2 separate regions of the Homo sapiens genome follow, and region 2 is linked to region 1. The links are contacts of gene promoters, found by promoter capture Hi-C in human tissues and cell types (Jung and others, 2019). All regions are on one chromosome and are shown on one strand. Each heading gives the region's core, a stretch centred on a gene start or on the middle of the fragment in contact. The rest is flanking DNA. Distances are from core to core; before and after follow the strand shown.

Region 1 (6,281 bases), core at 1,783-4,282:
CCCTCCTGACAGCTTGTTGGTCTGCGCTCCTTGTCACCTGATGCTTGCATCCCCGGTGACTATTAAAATGTCCGCAAAGTGCTCGCTTCGGCAGCACGTATACTAAAATTGGAATGATACAGAGAAGATTAGTATGGCCCCTGCGCAAAGATGACACGCAAATTCATGAAGCATTCCATATTTAAAAAAAAAAAAAAATCAGCAAAGACACCTGTACCTGTATCTGTTGGCACATGCCATCAAATGACACTGAAGAGCAACACTGTGGCCAAACAGGCCAGCTGGGAGGCCCGGAGCTTCCCATAATGAAATGCACCATCTAGACGAATTAGACAAGGGTTTTACTAATTCATGAGCAGGGAATTAATCCTGCCCACAAAATCTGTCCCTGTGGGGTTTTAGTGATAAAAATCACTGAGACAAAAAGAAAACTGGGTGCAACAGTTTATGGAGAGCCCCCACGTATAAGCAGTTAGTGACTGGAGTGGAGAGAGAATCCCAGCAAAGTGACCCATAGGACACAGGCGGGGACAGGGAACCAGAGAAGAGAACCATCTATGGAACAAAAAGGACCCTGTAAACTTGTCCTGGCTTGGGAGATATCTCCAGCTACAGGAATTCTTTTCCCGCTCCTATTTTGGGGGGCTATTGTTTTTACTTTGTGTCGGTCCCTGAAATCCCTAGACCCACGAACCCCCGGCGAAGGCCACGAGAGGCCTGGAGGCAGAACTGGTCCTCTCTGGCCCTTGCTGCACAGAGGCCACGCTGCATTTCCTCTGCCCTTGCTGTGGCATGTCCACACTGTCCACCTGGGAAGACTTGGGGAAGGGGCGAGAGGAAACAGAATGTGGGGATACTGGAGAGAAAAAAAGAAACATAGTGGCAATAGCAAAGAAAGTGGAGTCTTACAGGCAAGCAGATGCCCTGAGCCTGGCTACAGTATAAATCACAGAAACTAGAGGTTAAGCACTGTTTCTTGAGTAAAGCCGCAAGGGGTGCTGTTGGGGAGAAGGTGGGGCCACCTTGCCTAGGAGATGGCCCCCCAGCAGGCAGCCCCCAAGCCCCAGAGCCCTCTCAGGCCAGAAATGTCACTTCCCAAACCTTTGGGAGCACCAGTGTGTCCAGATTTGGCCAAGTATATTTTTACTCTTTTTTTTTTTTCATGCAAACTGCACCTCATAGAGCTCTGGAAGGTCTGTTGGCACTCGAACACAAATTTGAAAAGACAGTACATTAGTATTACACAATGTTGGTTGTTTACCAACAAAGATAAGTGGATGGAGTTACATAATCCTCTGTACATGCGTGTGGGATTCTCCCAGCCCTGGACACTTGAACTTTTAAGGAGCAGAGGCTGTGGAGCACTGTTCCTGGCATGGATTTGGCCAGCCTGGGGCACTTCTCCAAACCCTCTCTCGCTGTCCAAGGTGCAGACAAAGGGTCCTTTAGGGCCACTCAGTGCCCGTTGGCACCACCAGCCTGAGAACCAAATAGCCTTCCTGCACCGCCCCAAGTTCAAGGAAGTCACAGACTTGTGCCTAAATGGGAGAGTCTCACTGAGGCACCAGGAAAGGGTAGGTCATGACAAGATGACATTAGTAGTGACAACAGTCACCATTGCTAAGCCTGGCAGCTTCAGGCACGCTTAAAACTCCCATGAGAAGGCAGAGGCTCTGAGGCCCAGGAGGCTCTGAGGCCAAGGAGGCTGGCACAAGGTCACAAGGCTGGAAGGTGCCAGAGCTGGAGCTAGACCCCACCCCTTCTCTCCAACCCTATCCTAGCTGACTCCAGGTTCCATGCTTGGAACCATGGCACGCTGACGACATCGTGGCCTTTAAAGACAATTTTCTAATCACTTCTGTAGGCCTTGAATGTTCCCCAGTGGCCATTTAACAAGCAATTATTGAGCATCGGCTGTGTGAACCTGGTAGACAACCCACTGTAAAATGAGACGGAATAAATGAAGTGCTAGTTGGGGTTCAGGCAGGTTCTTTGGATAGACAGGAAGGCCTGCATATTTGGGTGGGAAGGGGACAGTAGGGGAGAATCCAGCAGGACTTCCTGCAGGAGGTGCTATCTGATGCACACCGTGAAGAACTCATAGGATGTGAGAGGCAGAGGGACACTTTATTTCCACTGGATGTGGTGGCCAGCATGGCCCCTGGGGCTTAACCTGAGTATGGTCGTCCCCTGGGGACCTGCCTTATTCTCCTTAGGGGAAGAAGACTTGAAGATCTGCAGTGTGCCAGACCCCTGCTAGGTCCGGGGGTAAGAGAGATCAAAGCCACCATCCCCCCCGCTCCGCCCCTCCAGAAAGCAGGACAGCCTTGCCCAGCAGTGGGGAAAGCTCTGCAGGAGCCCCGCCCCACCTCAGAGGATGCGGACTGGTCCTTGGCCCTCCTAAGCCTGAGTGTCCTCTGCAAAATGAGGACCCGCATTCCAACCTTGCAGGTGCGGGGTTAAATGAGATGATACACACTCACGCCCTACATCAGGGACGCTGCACGCACCTGGGCACAGAACACTAAGCACTCCGTAAACTCGGGGGCACCGGTAACATCAGTGGGCTCCAGGGAGATGACTGCCCCGGGAGAGACTCCCCCAGGAGCGCGGGCAGCTGGAGGGGGCGGGTCGGCAGGAACCAGGCAAGCTCCCCGGAGGAGGTGAGTGCTGAGTGACAGCAGGAGTTTGCCAGGGTGGAGGGAAAGGGGCAGAGATCCAGACTCCAATCTCAGAAGCTTCACTCCCCCCGGAGGCGGAGGTGACGCGCCACAGAAGCGCCTGCCACTCGGGGACTTTATTTCAGGTGGGGCTATTGAAAGTTCCCCCCTTTCACACCCGGTATGAAAACCCTCAAAAATCCAAAGGGGCACTTTCCCTGGATAAAAATAAAACTTGGAGGGGCCCGCAGGAATGGAATACTTTTTCTTCCTGTGTTTAAATTTCTACGGAAAATCTGACCGGCGCGGCCACCGCCCCTGCCATAGGCGGGCGGAGAGCGCTTATATCTTTAAGGCAAAGGCGGGCCGGCTGGCGTCCAAGTTCCTGACCAGGCGCGGGCCGGCCCGCGGGACCAGCAGCCGGGTGGCGGCGCGATCGGCCCCGAGAGGCTCAGGCGCCCCCCGCATCGAGCGCGCGGGCCGGGCGGGCCAGGGCGGCGGGCGGAGCGGGAGGCGGCCACGTCCCCGGCGGGCCTGGGCGCGGGGAGGCCCGGCCCCCTGCGAGCGCGCCGCGAACGCTGCGGTCTCCGCCCGCAGAGGCCGCCGGGGCCGTGGATGGGGAGGGCGCGCCGCCCGGCGGTCCCAGCGCACAGGCGGCCACGATGAGGGTCAACGAGAAGTACTCGACGCTCCCGGCCGAGGACCGCAGCGTCCACATCATCAACATCTGCGCCATCGAGGACATCGGCTACCTGCCGTCCGAGGGCACGGTGAGTGCGGGCGGCCGCGACCCGGGCGGGAGGGCCGCGCACCTGCGCCTTGGCGAGGGCGGGAACCGGGCGGCGGCAGGGCCTCCTGGGACCCCAGGGCGGGGGCCGCACCCTCCGCGCAGGGTTCGCGGCGCCCACCCGCGCACGTGCGTGCCGGGAAGGGCGCGCCGGCCCTGGCCAAGTGCGTGCGCCCCGCCTGCGCTCTGAGCGTTCCGAGCGCGGCGCCCACTCCGCCCAGCGCAGCGCCGGGCCCCCAGGCATGGCCCGGCCTCGGAGCTCTGCGGCCCCGAAGCCGCCTCACCCGGGGCTGCAGCTCGGAGCCCAACCAAGAGCTCACGGCTGGCGCCCTGGATGGGACCTTCCCTTCCTGGCTCGCGGCCAGGGGTACCTGTTGGGGCAGCCAGGGTGAGGGTGATGGTGGGGGTCTTGGGTGAAGGCCAAGTTGGTCGCCACTCCACGATGATGGTAACTGCCAGGCCCCACTGCTTCACTATCCTCTGGGGCCAGAGTCCCGAGTCCTCACTTGCCAGAAACGCATATTGTGCCCAGGGCACTGGGCCTGGTACCCTGGCATTGGCACCGAAACTCTCAAAGCCCAGGGTGTCAATCATTGGAGATTGCTTTCTACCCTCGCCCCTGTCTCCCCTGGGCGCCCAGGCCTGGTTCAGGTGGGGGCACTGGTTGGAAGCCAGTCATGTAAGTTGGGGACCCCATCCTGAGGTCCCCAATATCCCCACCACCCTCCCCAGGGCCAGACCCAGAGGTCTAGGTAACCCTATGTTTTAGAGAGGGGGGCAGAATTCTCCCAGGAAGGGTTTGGCTTGAAGGACAAAGTTTGCCGGAAGAGGATAGGACAGGGCTGGGACTGGCTATCTCCTCTTGGGGTGAGGGAAGCTCTCAGCAGCAATTTGTGGGACCTAAGGACAGAAGCTCCCTTCTACCTTCTTCCCATGCAGACCCCATCAAAGCCCCTCCCCAGGCGTCAGGCCCAGCAGGGCTGCTTCAAGCAGGATGAGGATGGCCCTGGCCTGTCCCTCTAGTCTCTGGAGCTCACAGAGAGGCAGGGAATGAAGCGGGAGCAAAGCTCCTGCTTTGAGTCTCTGTTCCAGCGACAGCAGGGACTCTGGCCTTGGTCAGGCCTTGCACCCCTTGGGTCACAGTGGAGGGGGGTGGCCTGGGGGCATCTCTTCAGGAAATGAGATTGCACAGAGCTGCCAGGAGCACTGGGAACAGGTGTAGATGGAGAGGGAGTCTACCTGTGACTCACAGGACTGGCCGGAGGAGCTCAGGGATTGCCATTTGATCAAAGCCATGTGCCAGGCCATGCTGGCCCCTGGGCACCCTCAAAGAATGAGACAGGGAAGGCTCCGCCCATCTGGAGCTTACTTAAGAAATGGTGATGGAACGTTACCCGTTATCCACGGCAGTGACAGGGACTATTCCATAGTGCTGGGCCAGTGCTGTGTCTTAGCTCATTGAACTCTCACAACGTGTGAGGTAGGTGCTATTGCTACAGGCAAGGAGACTGAGGCCCAGAGGGGCAGGTGACCAGCTCCAAGTCACCCATCAGCTGGGAGGACAGTTAGGAAGGGCCCAGGACACAGACCAGGTAGCTGCAGAAAGCCTGCCTGAAGAATAAACATTCTGGAGAAGGAGCTAATTCTACCCATAATGGGTAGGGACTGAGTCTTTCAAAAACATTGCATACTCAAAGTCCCAAAGGTGGGACCATGGAGGTACCAGCCAGGAGCCAGGGGATGGTAGTGGTGGCCAAGGTGATGGAGAAATGGATGCTCTGGGGGTAGACTAGACAAGACCTGATGGTGAACTGAATGTTCAATAAGAAATGGAGCCTGTCATGAATAGCCCCCGGTCTCTAGAGTTTTTGTTCCAGGACCCATTGCTTATCCAGACCCAGAAACTATCTGCCTCCTGCAAACCCAGGTGAAGGCCATAAAGTCTGCAAAGAGGCAGCTGGGCCCAGATGAGACCATCAGCTCCTGGGTTCCACACAACACTTCCGTTACACATACTTTGTTTTGTGAGCTTGGAAGGCTGAATCAGAGGCGCGCGCTGTGGGAGGCAGACCCTGGGAGCAGCATCTGCCGGTAGATGGCCAGACAGGCTGGAGGCTGCAGCCATGGAGCAGGGGCCTGTTGGTGCAGGGCAGGCAGCATGGCAGGGAGAGCCTCCCAGGGCATCCCCGGCACCACTCAAGCCAACAGTTGTTGCTCAGTCATTACCCTGAGTCACCCAACGAAGGCGGCTCTGTACACACGAGGGCCAGAGGGCGTGGGCTGCATTTCAAAAGTTCCTATCCTGTTCTCAGGTGTGAAACTCATACATGCACAAGTCAACCACAAGATAAGTTCATCCAATTCAGGCTGCGGTTCCCAGCCTGTGACTTTTGCCTCTCTTCATTCCCAAGTTCAAGGGTGGAAATGACTTCATTGTTTCTGTGCAGAGATATAAGAAGAAATGACTTGAAAGCCAGAGGCCAGGTTGAATGCAATTTGTTTCCATTTCCCTCTGTTAATCTTTGAGTGTTTCTACTTTCTTCCTTGAAACTGGTGGTTGTCCATGGTCTGGGATCTGTGTGCCCCAAACAAGCCCAGACACTCCAGAGATACCTGATTTGCTGGTATCTGCCCAGTATTTCCTGGCTTATCTGCTGTGGGAGATGATCTGCTTGTAGATTATGGAACGTGCCCCATAATCGTACATTGATATGTAGTGACCTGGTTTTAAAATTTTTTTAGAAGACAAAGGAAGTTTAAAACTGATGTTCCCTTCTTAACTATAATTTGAAGAGTCTCAAAACCAAAAGAAATTTTACAGGCCACTGATTTCA
Region 2 (6,281 bases), core at 1,179-3,678, 55 kb before region 1:
AAGGCCCTCTTCCTTCCCAGCTCAGTGGGTCCGGCCAAGGGTCACCAGACGGGTATTTGTCCCCACCTCCCTACCAACCCCAAGAACACACTCCACACCCCTCTTCGCTGCTGCGGTGTGAAGCTTCAGCCTAACCCAATCCCACAGAGTCCATCTCGACAGCCTGGGATGACATGGGTTCCCCAGAGGGGGACAGAGTGCTGGGTGTGGGTGCCAGTTTAGACCCAGGGGGCAGACTTAGAGGAAGCCTCCCAGAGGTGTCTCAGCAGAGAACTAAACCCAGAAACAAGCCCGAAACGCATTCCCATTCTCCAAGCATCAAAAGGCTGGACTATTCAAAACAAACAAAGAGCTAACCTTTTTAGAAAAACAGGCCCAGTGACCATTCAGCCTCTCATTCGTAGTCATCGTTCGCGGTCGTAACTGCTACTTACCGAGAGGTGCTTCGCTGCGGGCGTCGGGCTGGGTGCGTCCTTTACAGACAGGCCATAAGTGAGCACGTGGACTCGCTGTGGGAATTCATATTTCTTCTGCAAGGAAGAATGACTCATATCCAAACTCACTCAGCTGCCAAGGGGGAGGAGGGATTCGAACCCCCATCTTCTACGCTCCCAAACGCATGCCCATAATCCTCCTGTCCCCATGGAATTATCTAGTGGAGAAAAAATATTGATCAGCAAAAAGAGAAAGAAAAATGATAGAACTTCCTAATATGCCAAACATTGTCATCCCGCTTAAGACTAAAGCTCTGTTTCATCCTAAACTCCAAATGCCAACGTGCTCACTGACTTGACGAACGTTGGTTAGGCCTCGTGCATGCGAGGGAGCGTGGTGGTTGCAGGGGGCTGTCGTGACCTATACTTTTCACTCCCACCCCTTCTTTTTCTTTGTAAAGCTATATACCAACTTCAGTTTTTAGAATAAGGAGAGTGCTTTTTGTTGTTGTTGTTTCTTTTTTTTTTTTAGCTCTATCAGAAGAAATTAAACAGAAACAGAATGGAAAATAAAGTGTATTTTTAAATAAACTGAGGACGTGGTTCCCATTGTCCCCCGGAACCTGGTCCATTTAAAGCGGCCTCATTATTTTTAATGCATCCACTTCCTGGTCCCTCTCTTCCTCGGTTTTTCCCATGTCGATCGTCTGAGAAATTCCAGCGGTGACATTTGTTAAACATCAGCCCAAGGCTGGGCAAGGCCTCGGGAGCCAGGCTCTTGCCCAGGAAGGCTCCAGAGACTGAAGCCAGAGCCCTGTAAACTCATCCCTCTGTGTCCACTGCCCTGCCAGGAGCCCCTTCACATCCCACTGCCTGTGACATTCACAGGCAGGAGCGTGCGAACTGAATCCCAAAGAGTGCGCAGAGTATTTTAAAACTGAGCTGCTGTCACACAAGAACTTGTTCCCCCAAAGACCAGAATGTCCAAAAAAAGGAGCAGACGAAACCAAGCATAAGGTGTGCTGCTGTGTGCTCAGATCAGACCCAAACTGAGAGAGTCCTGCTTCTCCCTGGGGTTGGGCCCCTTCCCTCCTTGCTCCACTTCCTGCCGCTTTGACATCTCACGTTGGGCAGAAATCCCAGAGGAAAAAATGCTTTCCGAGACAGGCCCATGGAAGGCCCAACTCACCCTCTGGGACTTATTCAACTTGGATTCATCTGTCTGCTTTTGCCTCTATTTTAACCAAAAGACCCCATGAAGGTAGGGTCTTGGTATGGCCTCTTCACGACTCTGGACCTCAGCACACATCAAGGTTCTGGCACACAGTAGGTGCTCAATAAGGACTTACTGAATGGAAGCCGGGTGTGGTGGCTCACGCCTGTCATCCCAGCACTTTGGGAGGCCGAGGCAAGTGGATCACGTGAGGTCAGGAGTTCAAGACCAACCTGGCCAACATGGTGAAACCCCGTCTCTACCAAAAATACAAAAATTAGCCGGACGTGGTGGCAGGTGCCTCTAGTCCCAGCTACTTGGGAGGCTGAGGCAGATGAATTGCTCAAGCCTGGGAGACGGGAGATGGAGGTTGCAGTGAGCCGAGATCATGCCACTGTACTCCAGCCTTGGCAACAGAGTGAGACTCCATCTCAAAAAAAAAAAAGAATGCAAGAGTGAAGCCACTGATGGCCCCATAGAGCCAGCCTCACCTAGCTTGCTTTCCCCCAAATTTGAGTGTGTTCACTTAGTGGGTGTGGCAAGCAGAATCACGACCCCCAAAGATGTCTGTGTCCTGATCCCCAGAACCCGTGAATCTCTTTTATTACACTTCAAGGAGGAGTTAAGGCTGTAGATGGAATCAAGGCTGCTAATCAGCTGACCTTGAGGCAGGGAGATAGCCCCAGACTATCTGGTGGGCCCAACATCATCACAGGGAGCTTATAAGTAAGAGGAGGCAGGGGAAGCAGAGTCGGGGAAGACATGAGGACAGAAACAGAGGTCAGAGGGATGCACTGCCAGCTTGAGATGGAGGCAGGGGCCACAAGGCAAGGACTGCAGGTGGCCTCTAGAAGCTGGAGAAGGCAAGGAAACAAGCTCTCCCTGGAACCTCCAGAAGGAACAGCCCTGCTGACACCTTAGCTTTAGCCCAGTGAGATCCATGCCGGACTTCTGGAATTTAAGATAATAATCATGTGCTGTTTTAAGCCACTAAGCTTTGTTGATCTCCCGCTGCACAGTGGGAAACTCGTGCGCTGGGAGATGAGGGGAAATGCATGCCATGGCTCTGAGGCTTAATCATTGTTGGACCGGCATGTGTTAGTGCCTGCACCTTTCCGCATTGACTCCATTTAGCAGGAGCATGGCCATGTATAAGTCAGACTCAGTCTCTGCCCTCCAGAGCTCGCCATTTGGGAGATCCCAGGCTAAACCATGTCTAGTGGATTTGTTCATGGCACGTCTTGTCAGAGGCTTCTTAGATGCCAACACAATGAATGTCCAACAGTGCAGAATATAGCCTTCCCCAAATGTAGATGACCATGGAGCATTTTGGGTGGGAGTAGGGGCACTTTCTTTACTTCTAGGGGTGAGATTCGGCCCAGTACTGAGATGGTCTAGTCGCTGCCAACATCAGGGCTTAGGGAAGTTGGCTTTTGTTCTGTCCTGGTTTAGGAGTTGTAGCCTCATGCTCACACTGCAAGGCTGCCCATTGGGGAAGATCTGTTTCTTTTAAGAAATGCCAAATATTTAAACCATCAGTAGATGGTTAAACAATAAAGGCCATGTTAATGTACCTTTCCTTCCCAGCATCTGCATAGGAGTGTGTGTCTTTATCCCAGCCATGTGTGGGCCAAGAATCAAAGAAAGAAAAGAGTGGTGAGAAGAGGATGGGGAAGAAGACTGGCCTGTAGTTGCTCTGTGCTTTACATTTCAGGGATTTCAAGTTTACCAAAGTCTTGTCGAGAAAATGCAGGTGGTTCACTGCAACCTACCAATACTATCCAGGATTGCTTGGGTTGTAAAAGACAGAAAACCCAAGACCAGCTTCAGACATAGCTGAATCCGGGGGTCTAATGTTTCCAAATCTCCATCTCTCTCCTCCTCTTGGCTCTGCTGTTCTTTGGGTTGGGTCCACCCTCAGGACTACTCTCTTAGTGTCCAGATGGCAGGCACAGCTCCTGGCTTTCACCTTGGGCAGCCCCAGTGGACAGAGAGCTTGCCCCTGGGCACTCCAGCAGGGAGCCCAAGGCTATCTCTGACGGTCCTGCCTGAGGTCTTTGACCCTCCCTAAATGAGTCGCAATGGCCTGGGGGATGCTTAGCTGTGTGTACCCACTAGCAGATCCCTGAGACCATCTGGAGCGGGGGGACACATAGCCCATAAACCACATGGGCTGAAAGGGGGCAGTGGTGTTTCCTTAAGGAAAACCAGGACAAGAACGGCACAAGGGAGGGAGTGAGTGCCGGGCAGAAGACATTCGCCCGCTAGACCTGCTTCCCCTGCAGAGAATAGCTCTTCTCAACGGAGCTTCAGACAGTGGCCCAAAGAGTGGTCCCAGCTAAGGTTTCTTATGCCAGTGATGGGCTTGGCACTGTGCCAAGGGCTCCCTGGGCACCGTCTGCTTTCATCCTTGCAATACCCCTGGGAAGCTGGAGTTTGTGGCCCTCTCCCCAGTTCACAGATGGGGAAACTCGGGCTCAGAGACCTTGATTTTGACTCGGGCTCCCAAGTTCTTCGCCACCACCACCACTCTCAGCAGCTTGCAGAGCTGCCTCTGTCTGGATGGTCACCAGGCACAAAGCCCCGCTGACAGCCTGGACAGACATAGGCGGATCCCACCGCCCGAGCTGCCTCCCCTGAAAGGAGGACCTGGGCCTAGCAGGGGGGCACATAGATAGACTTGTCTGCTTCTCCTATTGACTATGAGCTTGTGAGACAGGGACCACACAGGCACACTCCAAGGGCAGCAGGGAAGCTCTGTTGAGCCAGGGAGTTGTGGGGTGGGACAGACAGCTGCAAGGACTTGGTGCTGAAATGCTGGGCTCCAGTGACATCTGAGCATCTGAGGGTCTCAGTTGGAGGAAAAAAGATGGACAAGAAAATGAAAATAAAAGCCTTCCATGGCTGTTCAGGAAACCACATGGGCTGGAGCTGTGCCTCAGAACACAGCTTTGGCCTCAGATCTGAATTCCATGCCCAGCTCTTCTCCTTGCCAGCTGGATGACGTTGGGCAAGTTACTTCACCTCTCTGGTCCTCAGACTTCTCATCCAAACAAGGGCATGTGACAGAATGTACAACTTATAAGGTGGTAGTGAGGGTTAGACAGTAGCATCCAACACCTTAGCACTATGCCTGTTATGAAGGAAGAACTGGTGTCTGCTGCAATCATGATCATGATAATGATGGTGGTGGTGGTGATTGTGATGATGAGAATAATGATGGTGGTGGTGGTGACAATGATGACGATGGTGCTGATGGTAATGGTGATGACAGTGAAGATGATGATGATGATGGTGATGGTGGTGATGGAGGTGATGACAATGATGGCGATGATGGTGGTGGTGATTGTGATGATGACAGTAATGATAGTGGTGATGGTGATGACAATGATGATGATGATGATGGAGGTAGTGATGACAGTGATGATGATGATAATGATGGTGGTGATGATGGTGTTGATGATGGTGGTGGTGGTGATTGTGATGATGACAATAATGATGGTGGTGGTGGTGACGATGATGATGGTGGTGGTGATGGTGATGATGATGGTGGTGGTGATGGTGATGATGATGATGATGGTGGTGGTGGTGACGATGATGATGGTGCTGGTGGTAGTGGTGTTGACAGTGATGATGATGATGGTGATGATGATGGTGGTGGTGATGATGATGATGGTGGTGGTGATGGTGATGATGATGATGGTGGTGGTGATGATGGTGATGATGATGATGATGGTGGTGGTGGTGACGATGATGATGGTGCTGGTGGTAGTGGTGATGACAGTGATGATGATGATGGTGACGATGGTGGTAGTGGTGGTGATGATGATGATGATGATGGTGGTGGTGATGGTGATGATGATGGTGATGATGGTGGTGGTGGTGATGATGATGTGGTGGTGGTGATGATGATGATGATGATGACGGTGGTGGTGGTGATGATGACGATGGTGCTGGTGGTAGTGGTGATGACAGTGATGATGATGATGGTGATGATGGTGGTGGTGGTGATGATGATGATGGTGGTGGTGATGGTGCTGATGGTGATGATGACAGTAATGATGGTGGTGGTGATGACAATGATGATGATGATGGAGGTGGTGATGACAGTGATCATAATGATGGTGGTAGTGGTAATGATGGCATTGATGATGGTGGTGGTGGTGGTGGTGGTGGTGACGGTGATGGTGGTGGTGGTGATGACAATGATGATGATAAAAATGACAACAATAATGATGATGACAACAGTAATAATGATGATGGTGGTGGTGGTGATGACAATGGTGATGATGGTGAAGATGGTGGTGGTGGTGATGCTGGTGACAATGATGATGATGATAGTGATGGTGGTGGTGATGACAATGATGATGATAAAAATGACAATAATGATGATGACAACAGTAATGATGATGGTGGTGGTGGTGGTAGTGGCGACTGATATCACCCTTGCTGCCATCATTCAAGAGACCAGGGTCACTTTCTCAAATTGATGAAACACACTGTAGTCAGGAGGTTGCAATGAGCACACAGACCTTGAATCAGAGTTCTGTTCCAGGCTTCTTACCAAGTGCTGAGCCTTTCTGAGCTGCGGATCCTGCACCTCCCCAGCTCTCGACTCTCCAAAGGCCCTGCCT

The links. Contacts are between HindIII fragments. The study calls those that stand out against the background at their distance.
Region 2: a contact is called between a fragment that was not itself captured here and the fragment with the promoter of ANO1 in region 1, in 3 of the 25 tissues and cell types used here (IMR-90 fibroblasts, stomach and thymus).

The regions. Positions count from the first base shown.
Region 1 is chr11:70,075,285-70,081,565 of GRCh38, forward strand. It overlaps ANO1 (anoctamin 1), which reads left to right and starts at 3,033. Exons shown (of 26, transcript NM_018043.7): 1 at 3,033-3,430. The coding sequence starts at 3,323. It overlaps LINC02584 (long intergenic non-protein coding RNA 2584), which reads right to left and starts at 64. Exons shown (of 3, transcript NR_103835.1): 1 at 38-64. It also overlaps the pseudogene RNU6-1175P. The HindIII fragment of the contact is 18,532 bases long and covers 1-6,281 here.
Region 2 is chr11:70,020,526-70,026,806 of GRCh38, forward strand. It overlaps a transcript of ANO1 not described here. Among named protein-coding and RNA genes, the nearest start is that of LINC02753, 42 kb to the right of the region's middle. RefSeq lists a silencer at 4,986-5,384. The HindIII fragment of the contact is 5,891 bases long and covers 1-5,374 here.